Regions from separate parts of the Homo sapiens genome. Here all the other regions are linked to region 4. The links are contacts of gene promoters, found by promoter capture Hi-C in human tissues and cell types (Jung and others, 2019). All regions are on one chromosome and are shown on one strand. Each heading gives the region's core, a stretch centred on a gene start or on the middle of the fragment in contact. The rest is flanking DNA. Distances are from core to core; before and after follow the strand shown.

Region 1 (2,700 bases), core at 156-2,655, 300 kb before region 4:
GACAATAAGTTAGTATAACATTTGCTGGGGCCAGGCACCGTGGTTCACGCCTGTAATCCCAGCACTTTGGGAGGCCGAGGCAGGTAGATCACCTGAGGTCAGGAGTTCAAGACCAGTCTGGCGAACATGGCAAAATCTTGTCTCTACTAAAAATACAAAAACTTAGCGGAGCCTGGTGGCACACCTGTAATCCCAGCTACTTGGGAGGCTGAGGCATGAGAATTGCTTGAACCTGGGAGGCGGAGATTGCAGTGAGCCGAGATCACACTGCTACACTCTAGCCTGGGCAACAGAGTGAAACTGTGTTGCAAAACACAAACAAACAAAAAAACAAAAACACACACACACGTTTGCAAAAAACATAACCTCAAAGAGTAGCTCTTCAAGTCACTACTCCCATCTCTCTATGCCATGTGATATCACCTGCTTTCTCACTAGGTGAGGGCTTGGTGGGGGTGGTCAAGGAAGAACACATCAGGGAGAAGCACCAGAGGTAGCAAGGTCACAGGTGTGGGGCCTGGAAGCGTCATCGCTGCTCACATCATTAGTGCTGCTGGTGCTGGTCCTCACCCCAACCCCATGTCTGAGCTCAGGAGAACTAGAGCCCCGCCGTCCCTCCTGTGCCTCCACTTCATGCTAGAGGCCTTAAAGGACTGCAACCACAAGAAACACAAACAGGCCCCTGGCAGGGCTGGTCTTTGGACAATTGTGAAAGACACAAAAGAAGACAGCTTCTAGAGGCGGGCATGGTGGCTCACGCCTGTAATCCCAGTACTTTGGGAGGCCGAGGCAGGTGAGTCACTTGAGATCAGGAGTTCGAGACCATCCTGACCAACATGGTGAAACCCTGTCTCTACTAAAAATACAAAAATTAGGCCGGGTGCAGTGGCTCACGCCTATAATTCCAGCTACTTGGGAGGCTGAGGTAGGAGAATCGCTTGAACCCGGGAGGTGGAAGTTGCAGTGAGCCAGGATGACACCACTGCGCTCTAGCCTGGGCGATAGAGTGAGACTGCGTCTCAAAAAATAAATAAATAAAATAAAATCAGCCAGGCACAGTGGTGCATGCCTGTAATCCCAGCTACTCAGGAGGCTGAGGCAGGAGAATCACTTGAACCCGGGAAGGGGAGGTTGCAGTGAGCTGAAATCATACCAATGCACTACCTGGGTGACAGAGTAAGACTCCGTCTCAAAAAAAAAAAAAAAAGAAAAGACAGCTTCTGGGACTCTCACAATGCAGTGAGAATTCTTGAGTTCTTGGAATGGATGCATTAACCTCTGTTTTCAAGATGGAGAAGGAAGCCAAGTATGGGGATGCTATTCTGTACAGGGGGAAGATCTGAAGATTCAAACAGAAGGCACAAATCCAGGAGGCAGTCCACAAGCCTACAAAAATGTATATCCTACAAGATTCAGGTTGCTAATTTTGGAGAACAACTTTCTGAACCCAGCTTATGAAGGCCACCTAATGGTGGGGACTCCCACTCATGACAAGGTGTGGAAAATCTGACAAAGAAAATTATAGAACTCCTAATCCTCTTTGGCCAATATGAACTGAAGCTTCAGAACAAAGTTCCAGGCCTCCCAAAAAGTCTTGATCCAGCCTGTTGCCATTTTAATCCAAAACGCACTATGGTTATAGCATTGCAGCTGGGATGGAGTAATTGTATCCTCAGAATCAGGAGCAGTTGTATGCAAGGGCTTCAAACTTACTCAATAGCAGAATTTGTGTAGGTGATTTGAATACTTAGGGTCACTTGAGATCAGTGCCATCAAGACCAGCTTTTGGGAGATCTCAGTCTCCCAAGCAGTTGTCCCTCACAAGAAACTCCATGCCAAGGGCAGATTGCTCCCTGTTCAGATGGAAAACATCAAGCACTCACACTCAGAGCTCATCAGCTGCTGGCTTCAGCTTGAGCAAGAAGTCTTCAGTGTCCCAGCAGGTGATATCTCACTACCAACTTGCTGTGCACAGATTTGCTGCTGCTCTATCAAGATGCACAGGCCAGGCTGGGTGTTGTGTGGCTCACACCTATAATCCTAGCCCTGTTGGGAGGCCAAAGCAGAAGGATTGTATGAACCCAGGAGTTCAAGACCAGCCTGGGCAACACAGCAAGACCTCGTCTCTAAAAACAAAGACAAAAACAAAAAAAAAACTAGCCAGACATGGTAGCATGTACCCATAGTCCCCACCCCCCCCGAAAAAAATGCACAGACCAACTAGAATCCAAGGATAACCATTCTGACATTCATGGGTCCCATCTCTAACAGCTACTTCACCACATACCAGAGACACCAAGGGTTCCCTCAGCCCAGGTCTCCATGCCAACCAGGCTCAAGTTTTAAACCCTAGAAATTAGGTTCTCTAGGGCCAACGAGAGACTAGGGATAAAACCTAGAGCTAAAATCCAGGTCCCAGCTGTGCTGGCCTCTGCCAAGGATTCTTCAGGCTTCCCTGCTTCTTCATCGTCAGGATCCCTAATCCTACAATCAGTAGCCAGTGCCTTTGTCCACTGCCACGCCCAGCTAATTTTTGTATTTTTAATAGATATGGGGTTTCACCATGTTGGCTAGGCTGGTCTCGAACTCCTGACTTCAGACAATCTGTCCCCCTCGGCCTCCCAAAGTGCTGGGATTACAGGCATGAGCTACCATGCCCAGCCTGTATTAATTTCCATGTGTTTGTGTAATTTCCAGAGT
Region 2 (2,700 bases), core at 87-2,586, 280 kb before region 4:
TTTGGTAAAAGGATTACAAGGAGGCATAAGAATGTGGATTTTTACCTACATTAAAAGGTTAAAAAAATACATTTTGTTTTAAAGGTTTAAGCAAGTTTTGAAATGTTAATTGTAAAGGAAATTCTGTGTGTAATCATACTGGCTGAAGTTAAAGGGGTATCATCCAGTTTTTCTGTGAACTGGACATTAAAATAAAAGCACAACAGGTTTTTCTTAAAGCACTAACCTGCTCTTTAACAAAAATTATAAAAAGGTTAAAAAGAGTCTGTAAAAATCTTACATTATGATCAGACATTAAAAATTGGATAAATATGTCTACAAGGTTTTACTAAAATTAAGTTTAACATTAATAACACACTAATATAAAGATGAAATTTAGCTTATCTGGTATAAAAATCATACAGGAAGCATTGTCAAATACAAAATGGTGTTTGGCCTTCTTTGGTCTAAAAACTAATAAAAATAGGTGCCAAAGAAAATTTCTCAACAAGAAAGCATGAAGGACTATAAAGTCCACTGTTGATATCCCCACGTTTAAAACAAAAGATCAATTTCTTAGAAATTATATACTCGGTTTATCCTCCACCTTCTCTTCCCTTAAAACAGAGGTCTTTTAGCACAGGTGCTGCCTTTGGACTTTCCAGTGCCTCAGCATCAGCCTGGGGATCACGTTCTCATCAAAGAGGGGAAAGAAGGGAAACTCGAGCCAGCCCGGGAAGGACCCTACCTTGTGCTGCTAACCACTGAGACTGCTGTTCGTAAGGTTGGAAAGAGATGGACACATCACACATGAGTCAAGCAAGCACCATTATCCTCAGAATCATGGGCCATTGTTCCTGGATCAAGCCCTACCAAATTAAAGCTAAGGAAAGCTTAGTCTATCTATCTTTTCCTTTCCCTTCCTTACCCAGTGCTTATATCCATTACTATTCCTACCACTAGCAACTCTAACCCCACTTTAGAACGCTTCTGTGGTTTAGGAGCAGAGGTCACTGGAAAGGATCCTATGGGCTTCTTTAAGGTGGGCTTTGTTCTCCCTCCTCCACCTCCTATGGCTGCCCCTTTCCCAAACCTACAAAATCAAACTATGACTCACCTCATGCCAAATGACAAAAGCAAGGTCCCGGTAGTAGAAATAGGAGACCTAAGGCAAACCATAGCCATTAAAACAGGGTATAAAAATGTAAATGCCTGGTTAAAATTGATTAAATATTCTGTCCACACGTTAAACAAAGGCAATTTTTATGCTTGTGCACATGACAGGCCAGAAGCCCAGATTGTCCCCTTTCCACTAGGGTGGCCCTCTAGTTGACTGGGCATGGCCTGCATGGCAGATCTTTCCCAGGATTATTCAGCCTGGGGTAACAAGTCGTGCCAAGCTCTCTCTCTGCTACATCCCGAAGTTCAACACCCTGCGGGTCAGCCCCCAAGGGCCATCCAGCTTCCATCTCCCAACACTAAGTTCACTTCGTGTCTCTCAGGACCGGGAGGAAACTTAGCGTTCCTTGGAGTCCTGAAGGGATGCAGTGAGATTAAGAAATTTCAAGAGCTTACCAATTAGCCCTTACTCATCCCTGAGCAGATGTGTAGTGGTATTATGATGGACCTTTACTGGACACTCTGCCGAGTAACTGAAGTGGCACTTGCTTTAGTCCAGTTGGCTATCCCTTTCACGCTGGCATTTCATCAACCAGAGAAAGGAAAAATAAGATATCATAAAGCAAAAGAAGCCCCTTATGGGTCTTTTGACTCTCACATCTATTTAGACATAATTACAGTCCCACAGGGAATACCAGATCAATTTAAAGCCTGAAATCAAATAGCTGCAGGATTTGAGTCAATATTTTGGTGGGTGACAATAAAATGTAAATTGGATAAACTACATCTATTACAACCAACAGCCATCCATTAACTACACTAGAGATGCTGTTAAAGGAATAGCTGAGCAATTAGGGGCTACTAGCCAGATGGCTTGGGAAAAATAGGATAGCCTTAGACATGATATTAGCAGAAAAAGGAAGAATTTGCATCATAATTAAAAATCAATGTTGTAACTTCATCCCAAACAACACCGCCCCTAATGGAAGTATAACAAAGGCATTGCAAGGTCTGACTGCTCTATCCTGAGTTAGCCAATAACTCGGGGGTAAATGACCCCTTTACAGGATGGCTGGAAAAGTGGTTCAGTAAATGGAAAAGAATAGTAGCCCCAATTCTTACTTCCATCGCAGCCATCATAGGTGTGCTTATTCTTGTCGGGTGTTGTGTCACACTAAGGAAGGAGACCGCTACAACTCCTGCTGCCCTCCTCCCACCACCTTGCCTAGTTCACAAGACAGGAGGAAAGAGAGAAAGCAAAAAGCTGGAAAGAAGCAAAAGTAAGATAAATAGCCAGACAACCTTGGCACCACCACCTGGCCCTAGGAGTTAAAAAGGTAATAATAATAACATCAACCCCAGACCTAAACTACTTGTGTTATCTGTAAATTCCAGACATTGTATGAAAAAGCATTGCAAAACTTTCTGTTCTGTTAGCTGATGCATGTAGCCTCCAGTCACGTTCCCCACGCTTGCTGGATTTATCACGACCTTTTCATGTGGACCCCTTTAGAGTTGTAAGCCTTTAAAAAGGCCAAGAATTCAGTTTGCAGGGAGCTCAGCTCTTAAGATGCAAGTCTGCCGATGCTCTCAGCCAAGTAA
Region 3 (2,700 bases), core at 191-2,690, 490 kb after region 4:
CCCTGCAGGCTTGGAAGTGCCTACTCGCACTCCCTGGCCTCTCCCCGCTCCCGGCACCCACTTCAGTGCAAAGTTGTAGCCAAGCGCGGGTGCTGTCATGACCCAGCCAGGTGTGCACATATGCAGAGTAGCCAGCACTCCCCTCCCCGACTGGTGCTTCAGCCCCCTCTAGACTTTGGTCACCAATGAACGCAGGAGGGAGACCAGAGGACTAAGCGTGACTTTGTACAGGCCTGTGGGTGCCCCTCAGCATAGACAGCTGGGCACCACGGACAGCATGTTGATGGCAGCGGGAGGCAGACAGGCTCCTAAGCAGGAAGAAGCCAGTTCCTGGTGAAACCACACCTTCAAGCCTGAAGCCTGGGCTCCAGGCTGCCAGTTCCAGGTGAGGTCCACGGCCTGGAGTGAGAATTTCATTGACAACTGTTTGGCCATTCGGATGGTGCTTTTTCCAGGACCAGCCAGGGACACCCAAGGACCAGTCAGCACACACTTCCTCCATTGTGACAACATAAAAACCCCAGATTCAGCCACTCACACTCTCCTCTGGAAGACCCCGCTGAGAGCTGGACACATGTCGGGACAACCTGTCTGCAGAAAGGAGCTACCCACCATGGGTCTCCTCTTCGCTGAGAGCCAGACAGATGTTGGGATAACATGTCTGCGGAAAGGAGCTACACACTACAGGTCTCCTGTCCACTAAGAGCTGGACACTCATCGGGACGATCTGCCTGCAGGAAGGAGCTACCCACTTCAAGTCTCCTGAGAGCTGTTCTGCCACTCAATGAAGCTTCTCTCTGCCTTGCTCGCCCTCCAATTGTCCACATACCTCCTTCTTCCTGGATGCAGGACAAGAACTTGGGACCTGCCCAATGGTGGAACTAAGAGAGCTGTAACACAAACAGGGGCAACGTCCCCCTGCTCGCCATGTTGCAGGTGATGAGGAGAGAAGAGAGGCAGCTCTTCGGGGAGCCAGACCTAGGGGCTCCCCAAGCCAGGGCTGTGACACCCTCTTTGGGGCTCTGCAGTTCCTGGTGTCTCCAAGTTTCTGGATGCCACCACATTCCCCTTGTCTAGGTGCTGGTGCCTGCAGCAGAAGCCACTTGTGGTACATCTGATCTAGCCTCAGCCTTGCACGGAGGCAGCACCCGTGCCAGGGCATGGAGCTGCCTGCCCCACCGCAGCAGCCACTGTGCACTGGCCTGCCTGTGCACAGTGGCCAGACCCCAAGCTTGCTCGTTCACAACCCCTCGCCAGTGTGCGCCTGGCTCACCCGTGGCAGGCATGGGATCCAGGCTGAGAGTGCGAGCCAAGTGCAGCCTGCCAGGGCTGAATGAGCCCAGCAGGCCCGAACAAAACTCAGGCAAAGGTACCACCAGCCACAGAGGTTTCTGGCTGGAAAAGCAATACTCTAAGGATCCTGTGACATTTTCGTATACATTTCCACAAAAATACCTGCCGTGATTTTGATTGAGCTTGTACCAAATTCGTACATCAACTTACAGCAAACTGGCATTTTACCAGTACTAACTCTTCCAAACCATGATCATGGTTTCTCTACGTAGGTCTTATGCAGTTTCAAAACAGTTCGTACTTTCCCTTGTGATTTCTTGCTTGACCAATGGACTATTTAGATGTGTGCTGTTTACTTTCTAAATACTTGTGGGTTTCCTAGATCCATTTTTGTTATTGATTTCTAATTTAATTCCATGGTGGACAGGGAATATACTCTGTGATTTCAATCACTTTAGGCTTTTGGAGACTTGTTTTATGACCCAGCACATAGTCTACCTTGGTGAACATACCAAGCACACTTGAAACAAGGTGAGTTTGGCAAGGTATAGTGTTCTGGAAGTATTAGGTATCAGGAAGGTGAAAGTGGTTGAGAGTGTTATCCAGATTATCTATGTTTTTCATGATTTTTGGTTAGCTGTTCCATCATGGGCTAAGAGAGCATTGCTGAAATCTCCAACTATGACGGTGGACTTCTCTATTTCTTTTATTCTGTCCATTTTTGCATCATATACTTTAAAGCTCTGTTATTAGGTAAATACACATCCATGAGTTGTTATCTGTTCTCTATGAATTACCCCTATTGTCACTGTGAAATATCCCTCCCCATCTTTTGTACTTCTTTGTCTTAAAGTGAATTTTGTCTGCTGCTTAAAAAGTCACTCCAACCTCCTTAGGCTGTTAATGTGGTATATAATTTCCTATCCTTTTACTTCTAACCTGTGTCTTTATAATTGAAGTGTGTCTTGAAGAGAACATATACTCAGGTCTTGCTTTTTAAAAAATCCATTCTAACATTTTCTGCCTTTTAATAACAGGGCTTAGTCTATTATCATTTAATGTAAATATTGATAAGGTTGAATTGAGTTAAACCATTTGGTTAATTTTTATTTTTTTCTCTCTTTTTTTTGTGTGTGTTTCTAGTCCTCTTTTCCTGACTTCTTTTAGATTTTTTTTTTAGAATGGCATTTTATCTATTGGCTTTTGAACTGTATCTTTTGCCTTATGTGTTTAGTGGTTATCCTAGGGATTACAATGTACATCCTTACCTTTTATATCAACTTAGCATTAATATTGTACCATGTCAGATCAAATGCAGAAATGTTACAATCTTATAGGTCCATTTACCACCCCTTTGTTGTTCCTTTTTGCTAGAGTTGTCATATGTATTCTACCAATGAATGTAAG
Region 4 (2,700 bases), core at 135-2,634:
TTTTTTTTTTGAGAAAATATTTGACAGCCCAGGGCCTCTCTCTAGAGCCGCATCCCCTGCCCGTGTTGGCTCATCAAGTTGGCACTGAAGTCGGATCTCTAAAATGTTCGCCAAGAAAGCCAACTCCTTCATGTACTTTTAATACTTAAAGCATGTGTTTTTATCTTTTAAATCCACAGTTCAGAGTCGTGACACTTCAAGAGGTGGGCAGATTATTCATTTGTGAATGAACAGCATTTATGAGAAATTTGGAGAAATTTTATGTTTGAGAGACACGAAGAATCCAGAGCTTTCCAAAACAGACTGATGATCACACCCACCGGGGAGTTTATGAAAATGCAAGCCCCTGGAGCACGGGCCTCTGCTGGATATTCGGAATCATGGGGCTGAGTAGGGCCAGGAATCTGTACTTTTAGAACAGCCATATTATCTAAAGTATATAGTCATTCCCAGTCCAAGCTCTGTAAATCCTGAAGAGAAAAATCTAAAAACTGCATATCCGGATTATGTTATTCTAGCTTCCTGTAGAAATCAGGCTTCAAGGAGCATACAGCCATTCTCATCAACATGAGACACGGATTTGTAGGCAATTTCTGTACCTTTCATAAAGCTGGCTAAAAGCATCAGCCGGTATTTATATAAGAATCCATGTCTGTTCTTTTTTTCCAAAAATCCTAGAGCAGTTGGCTCCTCAGATAACCCTGTGTGTTTCTTTTATCCAGTAAAAGCAGCGCATCCAGAGGTACTTGTTTCCTGGCCTTCTGCGAAGCCCACAGATAAATTAGGTCTCATTTGGAAACGTCCCATTTCGAAAAGCCTGAGGTATCTATCTCTGCCTACCGACTGATTTACAGCCTCACTTTAAAATGTTAGTCTGTTCTTAAAAAGGGTTTATAACTGCATCTACTATAATAATAAAATGTAAGCAACCTTGCGCTAGGTACTGAACAATTTCATAGCTTTGAACTCTCCAAAATGTTCTAGAAGCCAATACAGAAAACCCAAAAATCTCAGTTTTTGTTTGCAGAAGGGGCAAGAGAACCGGTTGTGTTAGCCCTCCAAGTGCCCAGCGCCAGCATAGGGTCTGTCTAACACACAGCCCAGGCTCTGTAAACCTTTGCTAAAAGAGCGAATCAACAAGGAATAAGTAATGGATAATAATAATAAATAATAATGAATCCATTCTTCCTTCGGTCGTGGGTCTGGCAGGCATAAATTCCGGCCGGGATTCCGACCCCAGGGCCAGAGCAGGACTCGCCTTGGCGTCTATGAGTGGGCGGGGCTTCCCTGGGGTACCGCCCACGTCGGGCGGGACCTGAGGGCCGCTGGAGGGGCGGGGCGTCTATGAGGTCCCGCCCATGCGGGGGCGGGGCCTGCGGCGCGCGGGAAGCGGCGCGCGCTGCGCGGGAGGTGACGGTGCCTCTGACTGTCCGGGTCCCTCCAGGTACGGCTTCCCTGGCCCGGGCAGCTCCGCGGCTCTTTTGGTCGCGTCGGTCCGGGCCAGAGGCCCTCGCCGAGGGCGGGCCCCTGGGCCCCGGGATAGCTCCGGAGCGGCGCGCGTTGGGGCGGCGGGGCCCCGTCCACCCCCGGCCCCGCGCGGCCTCCTCCCGGCGGCCTCAGTCCCAGCTTCCCGGGCCCAGCGCCCGGTCCCTGGGAAAGGCGGGGTTCTCCTCTCGCCCCGCCGCCCCGGTCCCCTACCCCGTTTGGCCCCCTCTTCCGGGAGGCTCCTCCCGGGGCGGGCCCCTCCCCGGGCTCTCAGGGCGCGCCCCTAGCCCCTACTAAGCGGGGACAGGCCGTGCAGACGGCCGGGGCCCCTAGGTAGCCTTTACCTGGGTGTTTCGTTTTGCTTTTCTGGATGTAGCGGCGTATCATAAACTTGTGGATGTCAGGACCCAGCGAAGCATTTTAGGTGGAGCTAGCAAGGTGTTATTGTCAGATGGCAACGTTAACATCCTTTCCCAATGCAGTGTGCATTTTAAATGGCTCCTGGCCCCTATTCAGCGCTCAATAACCCTTTGCTGCTGTTAACACTGTTGTTTAATCCATCACCAGCATTTTGCAGCTTTCTCCTGTCTTGAAGAAGTAGAACGGTGCCCGAGAAACGTTTTTCCCCTTCGAGACTCAGGAGGATGAAAGTCATCACTTGTGAAATAGCCTGGCACAACAAGGAGCCCGTGTACAGCCTGGACTTCCAGCATGGGACGGCTGGGAGGATCCACAGACTGGCGTCTGCCGGCGTGGACACCAATGTCAGGGTAAACTGGGGCAGAGATAGACATCCGGGAACACTGCTTGAAGCAATAGTTTTCATTCTTTTACTTAAAACCAGTGTCGGCTGGGCGCGGTGGCTTACGCCTGTAATCCCAGTGCTTTGGGAGGCTGAGGTGAGAGGATCGCTTGAGTCCAGGAGTTCGACACCAGCCTGGGCAACAGCCAGACATGAAAAAGTAGCGGGACGTGGCAGTGTGCAGCTGTAGGCCCAGCTACTTGGGAAGTTGAAGTGAGAGGATCGCTTGAGCCTAGGAGTTTGAAGCAAGCAACGATCACTCCACTGCACTCCAGCCTGGGTGACAGAGCCAGACCCTTCTCTTAAGTAAATGAATGAATGAATTAACGTATGTCAACAAACTAAACTACTTTGTCATCTAGCCCAGAATGCTAAATTTCCAGGGCCTGCGGTGAACAATGAAAGCAAAAGAG

Evidence for each region. The method cuts DNA at HindIII sites, captures the fragments that hold promoters and counts their contacts. A contact is called where the count stands out against the background at its distance.
Region 1: a fragment that was not itself captured here is called in contact with the fragment with the promoter of CHAF1B in region 4 in 1 of the 25 tissues and cell types used here (lymphoblastoid cells).
Region 2: a fragment that was not itself captured here is called in contact with the fragment with the promoter of CHAF1B in region 4 in 2 of the 25 tissues and cell types used here (dorsolateral prefrontal cortex and lymphoblastoid cells).
Region 3: a fragment that was not itself captured here is called in contact with the fragment with the promoter of CHAF1B in region 4 in 2 of the 25 tissues and cell types used here (dorsolateral prefrontal cortex and lymphoblastoid cells).

The regions. Positions count from the first base shown.
Region 1 is chr21:36,082,993-36,085,692 of GRCh38, forward strand. The region is part of intron 2 of CBR1-AS1 (CBR1 antisense RNA 1); the gene reads right to left. Among named protein-coding and RNA genes, the nearest start is that of CBR1, 14 kb to the left of the region's middle. The HindIII fragment of the contact is 3,563 bases long and covers 1-2,700 here.
Region 2 is chr21:36,106,976-36,109,675 of GRCh38, forward strand. The region is part of intron 1 of CBR1-AS1 (CBR1 antisense RNA 1); the gene reads right to left. It overlaps LOC105369306 (a long non-coding RNA gene), which reads left to right. Exons shown (of 2, transcript NR_147887.1): 2 at 623-2,700. Among named protein-coding and RNA genes, the nearest start is that of CBR1-AS1, 18 kb to the right of the region's middle. The HindIII fragment of the contact is 4,793 bases long and covers 1-2,700 here.
Region 3 is chr21:36,874,891-36,877,590 of GRCh38, forward strand. The region is part of intron 6 of HLCS (holocarboxylase synthetase); the gene reads right to left. Among named protein-coding and RNA genes, the nearest start is that of HLCS-AS1, 90 kb to the right of the region's middle. The HindIII fragment of the contact is 4,203 bases long and covers 1-2,700 here.
Region 4 is chr21:36,384,008-36,386,707 of GRCh38, forward strand. It overlaps CHAF1B (chromatin assembly factor 1 subunit B), which reads left to right and starts at 1,385. Exons shown (of 14, transcript NM_005441.3): 1 at 1,385-1,444; 2 at 2,053-2,255. The coding sequence starts at 2,130. RefSeq lists silencers at 1,217-1,586, 1,617-1,716 and enhancers at 1,836-2,337, 2,338-2,700. The HindIII fragment of the contact is 18,705 bases long and covers 1-2,700 here.